2 separate regions of the Homo sapiens genome follow, and region 1 is linked to region 2. Evidence: promoter capture Hi-C in 16 types of primary human blood cells and fetal thymus (Javierre and others, 2016). All regions are on one chromosome and are shown on one strand. The core of a region is centred on a gene start or on the middle of the fragment in contact, and the rest is flanking DNA. Distances in the headings are between cores, read along the strand shown.

Evidence for each region. The method cuts DNA at HindIII sites, captures the fragments that hold promoters and counts their contacts. A CHiCAGO score of 5 or more calls a contact.
Region 1: a fragment that was not itself captured here is called in contact with the fragment with the promoter of FYN in region 2 in 1 of 17 cell types (neutrophils); the score reaches 6.2 in neutrophils.

The regions. Positions count from the first base shown.
Region 1 is chr6:111,241,341-111,245,897 of GRCh38, forward strand. All of the region lies in intron 1 of SLC60A2-DT (SLC60A2 divergent transcript), which reads right to left. Among named protein-coding and RNA genes, the nearest start is that of SLC60A2-DT, 16 kb to the right of the region's middle. The HindIII fragment of the contact is 1,769 bases long and covers 1,922-3,690 here.
Region 2 is chr6:111,870,754-111,875,804 of GRCh38, forward strand. It overlaps FYN (FYN proto-oncogene, Src family tyrosine kinase), which reads right to left and starts at 2,699. Exons shown (of 14, transcript NM_002037.5): 1 at 2,215-2,699. It overlaps LOC102724646 (a long non-coding RNA gene), which reads left to right and starts at 2,699. Exons shown (of 3, transcript NR_168402.1): 1 at 2,699-2,937. RefSeq lists silencers at 1,819-2,218, 2,369-2,618, 2,739-2,828 and an enhancer at 2,271-2,770. The HindIII fragment of the contact is 15,284 bases long and covers 1-5,051 here.

The DNA.
Region 1 (4,557 bases), core at 1,556-4,055, 630 kb before region 2:
TATTTATGGCTTCATTTTTACATTAAATCTCTAAGTTATTATTGATTTTGATATATGGTATAAAGTTGAATTCTAACCATTTTTTAAAAAGTACAATTGGGCGGCCGGGCGCGGTGGCTCATGCCTGTAATCCCAACACTTTGGGAGGCCAAGGCGGGAGGATCACGAGGTCAGGAGATCGAGACCACCCTGGCTAACACGGTGAAACCCCGTCTCTACTAAAAATACAAAAAATTAGCCAGGCGTGGTGGCGGGCGCCTGAAGTCCCAGCTACTTGGGAGGCTGAGGCAGGAGAATGGCCTGAACCCAGGAGGCGGAGCTTGCAGTGAGCCGAGATTGCACCATTGCACTCCAGCTGGGTAACAGAGCGAGACTCCGTCTCAAAAAAAAAAAAAAAAAAGGTACAATTGAGCTGGGTGTGGTGGCTCACACCTATAATCCCAGCACTTTGGGAGACCGGGGCAGGCAGATAGCTTGGGCCTAGGAGTTCAAGACCAGCCTGGGCAACACAGTAAAATCCTGTCTGTACAAAAGATACAAAAATTAGCCAGGTGTGGTGGTGTGCACCTGTTGTCCCAGCTACTAGGGAGGCTAAGGTGGGAGGATTGATTGAGCCTGGGAGGCAGAGGCTGCAGTGAGCCAAGGTCATGCAACTGCACTCCAGCCTGGGTGGCAGAGTGAAAACCTGTCTTAAAAAAAAAAATGGCCATTGAACAATGCAGGGGTTGGGGTCCCTACACTCCATGCAGTCGAAAATCCATGCATAATGTTTGACTCCCCCAAAACTTAACTCCTAATAGCCTGTTATTGACCAGAGCCTTACTGATAACATAAACAGTCAACTAACACATATTTTGTATATGTATCATATACTGTATTCTTAAGATAGAAAAAAGAAAATGTCATTAAGAAAACCTTTTTATGTTTTTGTTTTTAAGACGGTCTTGCTCTGTCACCCAGGATGCAGTGCAGTGGCTCAGTCATGGCTCACTGCAGCCTTGACCTCCTGGGCTCAAGCAATCCTCCCACCTCAGCCTCCAGAGAAGCTGAAACCACGGGCACGTGCCACCATGCCTGGCTATTTTTTTTTTTTTTTGGTAGAGATGGGAGATCTCACTATGTTACCTAGGCTAGTCTCGAACTCCTGGGCTCAAGCAATCCTCTTGCCTCGGCCTTCCAAAGTGCTGGGATTACAGATGTGAGCCACTGTGCCCAGCTATGAAAATCTTAAGAGAAAATGCATGTACAGTATTTTACTGTATTCATCAAACCAAGTTCACATTGTCTGTTTACAAGATGAATCATCTGTCTGAAATGGTCAGCGCCTGTGGCTGCAGACCTCAATCGAAGGTTCATATCAAGGAGTTCAGCTTTTTCTTGTGATATCATGACTTTTATCTGCTTCTTGAGTGCACTTCAGGCATCACTAATGGCACTTTGTATGGGTCCCATGGTGTTATTCAAGGTTTACAGTATTGCACTTGTCAACTGAAGAACGATGGAGGTTCATACATTTGGAAAGGAGAGCTTTCTTATAAAGGGTTGCAGCTTGCAGGGTGGCCATTCTGACAGGCTGGAAAGAACAGCCTCCAGCCAGAAGCCAAAAACAGACACTTTGACAGGGGGAAGAGTATGACAGAGATTTGCTGAAGCAGGTGGCCAAATATACATACTTAATAAGCTATAGGAGGAGTTATGATTATTTATGAAAGGAGAAACACACACATGCACAATAGAGCTTCATGCTTCTCCATGGGACCCATGTTCAAAAAGTGGCAGTGTTAGCACCCTCCATCCAAGGGTGGAGTTTTTGGCCCTCTGATTTCAAGTGGTGAAGCAGACAACACGAAAACCTCTCTGCTCATCCTTGGTAGACTGGCCAGAGCCACTCTGTGGACCCTGGTCTCTTATGAGGAAGGAAAGCTTTGTCCAAACTGCCAAATGGAAGGGCAGCGACAGGTGGTTGGTGGCTATCAGCAGTGGAGCAAGTCTCTCAGAAGGGCTGGCTTCTCTGTAACCCTTAAGGAAGAAAACCTAAGAGCAGTTAGAGCAGGAGCAGGTGTAATGAGGCCCCCATCTCGTCACAGCTGGAACTGAGTTTTGGCCGAGAAAGGAGTCTGTTTAGTTGGTTGGGGGGCTTAGGATTTCATTTTTCTCACACTAAACACACACAAAAAATGCAAGAACTGAGAGAAATTAGTTTTTACTTCAATGGAATTTACTGGAGAGATGAACTGGGCAAGTGGAGATGACCGACGAGCGTCACACAACGTTTTGGGTGGATACTCACAACACTGGAGCCCACCACGACAACAACGAGAGGCAGCTGCAAAATTATTCCAGCAGTACAGTGTGTACTACAGTGAGTTGTATGCAGTTATGATTTAATACTGCATCTTCACATTTGTTTCCATTTCTCTGGACTGCAAATGGCGCCATGTGTAGTCTGATGTTTGTGTGTGTAAATTTTGATACATTTTAACATTTTAATAATAGATTTGTGTATATTTTATGGTAGTAAATGATAAAAATAGACAAGTGTCTACATATTTTTATGCGTTGATGACATACCTAACATTTTCTTTTTTCCATATTTCTAGGCTATGTGATTTGTCTGCAAGTTTTTTATAATTGTTGCAAATATCCCCCCAAAATTTCCATATATTTATTGAAAAAAATTCACATATAAGTGGACTCATGCAGTTCAAATTTGTGCTGTTGAAGGGTCAACTGGATTTTTCCAGTTTTCTTGATACTAGTTACTACTCACTGAATAATTCATCTTCTCCTCCTTCCCCCACTCCAACAGTATATAATAGTTTTCTTCTATTTACAATGACAGAATTAACATATTTTTTCCTCCATCTCCCCCTCTCTATCACCTGATTTTAGTAATATTATCTTTCTTCATGTTTACCTCTAATTATTTTACCTCTGTATTATTCCATTTTATACTTATAACTCTACTATTCATTTAATTAGCTTTAAGTAATAACTTTTCACCTCTAGTTATTAAAGATGAGGAATCAGTATACTTTATTTCATATATATAATTTTTAATTGTTTAGAGATGGGGTCTTACTATTTTGCTCAGGCTAGTCTCAAATTCCTGAGCTCAAACAATCCTCCTGCCTCAGCCCCCCAAGTAGCTAGGATTACAGACACACACCATAGTATCCAGCAAACAAACAAAAAAATCAGTATATTTTCATCCTTTTCCATCCATTGCTTTCCACTTTTTATTGCTCTATCATTTCTACATCATCAGGGCTAATAACATTTAAATTCCATCTTTCCACCGTAATCCTCATATTTGTCTTTGTCCTGTGATTTGCATCAAAGCTCACTGCCAATCCCGTCTGCAGTTGTTTCTCCACTCATCTCTTGTTCTACTGAACCTTCTAACATTTCTCAAATGGATTTATGAAAATAATATTCCAAGAGTTCTTTCATCTTCAAACTATTTATCTTTTGTCTTTACACCTGAAAATATTTGGCTCATGTTTTCTTTCCTATGGGATTTTGTAGCCATTTCTCAAAAATCTTCCAGCATTGAAGTTTGCTATGGAAAAAGACAGAGGCTAGCCTTTGGATTACTTCCTTCACATCATGCCAAGGAAGCTCCAGCATTTCAACCTCATTAACTGTAGACCACCAGTGAGTCGAAATTTTTAGTCAACCAACCAAGTAAGCTTTTACAGCCATCTCCAGCTGCATGGACTGACACTTTGAACCTGCAGTCCCTAGTAAAGTGTATCCATAGCAGTGAATTCAGCTGGATCTAGTGTTCTATTCTGTTTTCCTTGGTTTAATACCTTTAGCATCCACTTCCACACATTCACCAGGTTTCCATTCATATATATTAACAAAATATTGCAGTTATTTTGGTGTTATTTCCTCCTGGATCATAGTGTGTACCTGCCCACCTGGAGATGTCAAGATTTGATCCTAGTTATGGGGCTAGTGGCAATAAAGGATGGTTATCATGGGTCTTGAAGAGAATGGGCATCCTCTTCCAAGGTGTCTGCCCCAAGTGACATTATCACAAGGTTTTCAAACAAAGACTAGTCTCTTCAGATACTGGAGAGCAAACAACTTTCATTGGTGAGGCTCTACTGCCTAGCAATTGCCATTCTTCATCCTATGCGTACAAATCCAAAAGAGCTTTGGTGCTTAAGAAGAAAAAAAAGTACCTCTGAATGTCTTATGATATATGAACTTTTATCAAGAAGTAACTTGGAAAAGAAGACTTTTATCTAGAATCCTCGTAGCATTTAGAGAGAATACCACTCTCTTCTGTTGCCCTGGCCATTTGAGCATTCTCAGCAAATAGTATTTTCTGAAAAGATGCTAAATGTATTAAACCTTTGAGTTTAATGATTTGAGTCTCAAATGATGCTAAAGGTATTAAACCTTTGATGCTAAAGGTATTAAACCTTTGAGGCAGATGCTTTTTATCTTGTGATTCTCAATTGAAGGAGCAGTTAAAAAAAAAAAAAAGATGAAGCCGGATGTGGTGGCTCATACCTGTAATCCCAGCACTTTGGGAGGCCAAGG
Region 2 (5,051 bases), core at 1,449-3,948:
ACTTCGAGCAAGTCAGATGGGGTTGGAGATTCCAGACCCAGGAGAAAGCAGAGTGTGCATTTGCTCACATTCAACCTTATCATTAAGTCTCTTAAACTTGGTCAACAGAGTGTGAGTTTATGTGCTCTGGCTTTCCTTCCTGGGTCTGGCATCAAACAAACGACCCTTTGTTTTTACAGTACACTCATTAACCCTATTGCTTTTTTTATCGTAAAAAGTTCCACGATGAATGTTCTTAAAAAGTGTGTAAGTAAATATTTAATGAATCATAACTCTTTTCTAATAAAATTACTGAAGACTAAACCTACAGTTCTGTTACTTATAAAAATAGTCGAGGAGCCATACTTTTAGGAAAGAACAGGTTCAACTTAAGTTTTGACAATATCGATTAAGCATGTAATAGTCACTGGCTTACAAAACGGAACATTAAGCCCCCAGATTTACATTAACATTTCTTCCTTAAAGGGAACATCAAATGGTTTAGACTTCAGTCAAGATTCTCTACAGCCCCAGTTCATAGCCAAGTGGCCTCAAAGCCTCAGATAGTTAAACCACTTCCTCCAAAAGTCTGTGAGTCCCTTCATCTGAATACAGGGTACCCATGGAGCAGGGACTGGGGAAGAAGACAGTACATAGGGTGGAAAGTATTGCAGTTGCTTGGGTGGTGAGAAAGGAAGTAGGCGTCCCAAGACTACCTTGAAGCAGGCAAGAGGCAGTCTGCAGTGGTCTTCCAAATGCTAACTCTAGACCGTTTTATCCACGTCCCCAGGTATTTACTTCAATAAAAGGGTAAAACAACATCACTGGGCAGACAGGATTTCATTTCAAAAGACTTCAGTACAGTGCCCTCTTAGACTTGAGAGAAGAAGCCATTCAGGCTGCCTCCCTCTTATCAAATAACAATTTAATTCTGATTCAGAAACAAAATTCTTGTGACCCCCACACCAATCTACTCTACCCCAGCTCTTAGTACTTGTTCCCAAAAGGACAGGGGAAAGAACGAGGGGATGGGGAGGCTACCTTAAAAGTAAAGCAACTCTTAAGACTGCTGGGATAACTGTTCCCTTAAATCTAAGAAACACTGCAGCTGCCAGTCAACACTACCGGTCTCTGAACACAGCAAAATGCCGACACCTGCCACCCGGCATCCGGGGGTTCTTTTATTTTTTGGTAAATGTGGCAGGAAAGACTCAGAGAGATCAACTGCTTCATGGGAAAGAAAGGGAAGCCCCAGGGAAGAGAGACAAGAAGCATCGTGCCTATCCTAGGGTACTTTGTGTGTCTCCTCTCTATGCACTGAAAGGGCTCTTTGTGTCACACTCACACTCACACACCCGGCGAGTCTGTGTGATTTATTGGGGGAAGGAGGGGCAAGAAGGGTGATTTTATTATCCCTCTTCCCAGTGAGTCCCAGCACATCTCTGCTGGGCCCAAGCTCGGTGGCCTCCTTCTGGCCCAGTCCCCTCCGCCTGTGGCCGCAGAGATAACAGAGGGGAGGAGCCCAAACAAAAACAGCCATGGATCTAGGGAAGTAGAGAGGAAATCCAGCGAGGGAGCCGGAAAGGAAGGAGAAAAGAGCTGGAGGGAGCAGAGGGGTGGGGGACAGAGGAAGAGGAGGGAAGGCTCCAGCACAGGGGAAAGGGGAAGGGTGGGTGGGTGGTGGCACAGGAAGAGTGAAGGGGAGGATGGGGGAAGTGCAAGGGAGGTGCCAGAAATAGGCAGGAGGATGGGTTGGAGAAGGCGACCGCCGCCGAGGGAGGAGGCCGAGAGGTGGAGGAGTGGGGCAGGGGTTGGGTGGGGAGGGAAGCAGCACGGGGCATCAATTATTAAGTGATTACATCATCCCTGACATTAAAACAACACACACAGCCCCAGTCCCCGCGGGGGGCCCCAAAAGGAGGGCGGGGGCGGAGTCTGGGCCAGCCTCGCCCCCAAGCCAATTCCCATTTTCACCCGGCGCCCGCTTGCGGGCGAGGAAATGGGGTCCCCATCCCCGCGCTGCCTCGGGGCCGCACCCCGCAGGGGTGTCCTCCGGTGCAACCGCGGGAAGACCCCAAGCACCGACTCCCCGGCAGCCCCGCGGAGCGCCCTGGCGGCCAAGGGACCGCAGCACCGGGCCCTGCGGCGGGGGCGGCGTGCGCGGGGGCGCCGGCGGCCGGGCTTCTCCGCAGCATCCCCGAGGCCTCCCGCGACGCATCCCCGCCGCCTGCTTACCTGCGCGGCGCTGAGGCTCCGGAGCCCACTCACATGGTCCTCTCCCCGCCCTCCTCCGGCGCGGCCGAGGCGGCTCCGGGGGGTCCCCGGCGGGCCCGGGAGCCGGTGGGCCTTCCGAGAGCACCGAGGGGGCGGCGCCGGGGTGTCCCCGGCCCGGCGGCCGAATCCCTCCCTGGCGCGGGCGGCGGCCGCCGGGCGGTGCGGCGCGGGCGGCGGCTTTGTGTGCGCCCGGGCGGTCCTCGGTGCGCTGGGAGAAGCGCGGCGCGCCCGGGCGGGAGAGGACGCGCCGCTCGCACAACAACCTCGCCTCTACTCTCGCCGCCGGGCGGCGGGCGGGTCTCGAAGGCCTTCGGCTCGCGGCGACCCCTCCTCCTCGCCCGCGGCAGCCCCCTCCTCGCCGGCTCCGCTCCTGACAGATGGCGCAACTGCAACGACGCGCCGCCGCCACCAGCGCGGCTGCTCGCTGCTACTCTTGCTGATGCTCTGCCCCTCCAGCTCCGGAGGGGAGCGAGGAGGGGGCGGGGCGCGCCTCGAGAGTGACAGGCCCGGCTGCCCTATCAAAGAGCCCCTTGGGAGCTGCGAGCCGCAACCATTGGCGCCTGGGGCGTGGGCGGGACGGCAGTAGGTGGGGCCGCCGAGTGGGTTGAGCGTTACTGTGGCAGCGGGCATCCCAGGGTGCGTGCGGTGCAGGGTGTGCAAGAAAATGCGAGGTTGGAGGAGGAGGTCTGTGTGTTTTTAAGGATTGTGTGGAGTTGTGAGGTGGCGGAGTAGGGCGGGAGAAAGAGCGGAGAGTGTGAACTGCAGTTTCCGCTTTGCGGAAGGTTGCAGCTGCTGCTGCAGATTGGCACCTGCCATTCCCCCAAAACCATGGGAAACTGCCTCGAGACAGGGCTATCTTGCCTTTCTGGTGTCTTTTCATTTGAGGGTGAGAGGATGAAATGGAAAATTGGGCGGTGATAGCAGCGTTTTCTTTGATCAAACTGAAAAGAGTACGGAGCAAAGTAGAATCCTGTCCTGAAACGTGGAAACGCACAACAAATAACAATGAGGAGGAGAAGGAGATTAGGATCATTTTATCAGTCCCCTATTTCTGCGGACACTCATTTATATTTTTTTTCTAGCAAAAGTCTGGAGGAAGTATTACTGAAATAGGGGGAGGGGCCAAGCGGCGACTAAGGAACCTGAAATGACAGAGATTTGTTCGTACATTCCCCGCCCCACCCCCAAAAAACCTCGTTTAATTGTAGTCATTGGTTGTCTTTGGTTTCTCATAACATTCAAACTTCTCATGTTTTTTTCCCCTTCACTGAATCTGAGCTTTTGCTCATATTTCCCTTGATGAAATAATTGCCGGTTTAGTATACAGTTGGGAGTGCATCGGTCTTTATTTCCTATCCAGCTTTTCTATGGCAGGATGTAACTTCATAAAAAGAAACACTTTGGCTTCCTGATTTTCTTTATAGGTAATTCCTGTTTACTGAAAGTTCTGCTTTAAGGCATACTCAGAATCGCTCTCCTTAATGATTTTGGCAAGAACCCTACCTTCCCCCTCAGCAAATCTAATGTTCTAAGAAATTATAAGTGAATCAGCTTCTGCTTCTGTGCTCAAAATCTATAATATTGCCTTTCCGGCCCACTACTTGTTTTTACTGTAGTTTAAAAAAATCTGTCCCTTTTGCTGACTTTTTTCTTTTTGTACACACTACTTTTTAAGAAAAGTTGCTAACATTTATTAAATGATCTGCATCCTATGGAGGAGGAAACTGAGGAAAAGAAAAGTTAAGTAACTAACTCAAGGTGACAGTATACAGAGGTTACTGGATTTTTTTCCTTTTCCTTAAACAAAATGACAAATTAAACCATGTTTAAATTGTGTCTGGAAATTCCATAATCCCAAGAAATGGAACCATAGCTAGGACTAGGATATTTCCATACAAGAGAAAGCCAGCTTCATTTAGCCAAGAATTGCTTATCTCAAGAGCAGAGGCTCTTCGTCCTCAGGGCTAGTCCGCAATGGCTGCTCTGGGTTTATTTGGATTGGGATGCAGAGGCAGTTGGGTAGAGCAATGGTTCTCAAACTTTGACATGTATCAGAAATAACTGAAGGGGCTTGCTTAAACATGAATTGCTGTGTTTAACCACCTGAGGTTCTGATTTAGGGGGTTTGGGATGGTGCCCAAGAATTTGCACATTTAGCAAGTTCCCAGGTGATGTTGATACAGCCAATCTGGAGACAGCACCTTGAGGACCATAGTTCTAGAATTGGGCTGTCCGAGGAGGTAGCCACTAGCCACATGACTGTTAAGTACTTGAAATGTACTTCAGTATTGGAAATTTGGCTACTGCAAATTAGGATGTGCTGTAAATGTAAAAGATGTATTAGATATTTCAGATCAAGCATGAAAAATGGAATGTAAAGTATCCCATTTTAATATTGATTACATGTTAAAATGATAGTCTAAATGTACTGTGCTAAATAAAACATTATTAGAGTTAATTAAATTGTTTCTTTTATTTTTTAAATGCGTCTACTAGAAAATTTTAAATAACCTATGTGGCTCAAGTTATATCTCTATCGGGCAGCACTGGTCTGGAGTTGTTTCTGATTCCAGCTCCACAGTTCACTGTTGGGAGCGCTTTGATGAAGCAAGTCGCTTATCCTTTTTGAACCTTAGTGTCCTCATACGTAAAATGGGAAAAATAGTAAAACTGTTCTCAAACTATTCCGGACAGACTAAGTGTCATATGCTCTCAAGAAAAAAACACTCTTAGGCTATATATCTCCTTGAAATCTCATGTTTAGTTCAATCTATCTTACGCTAAATCTGGAAATCTGG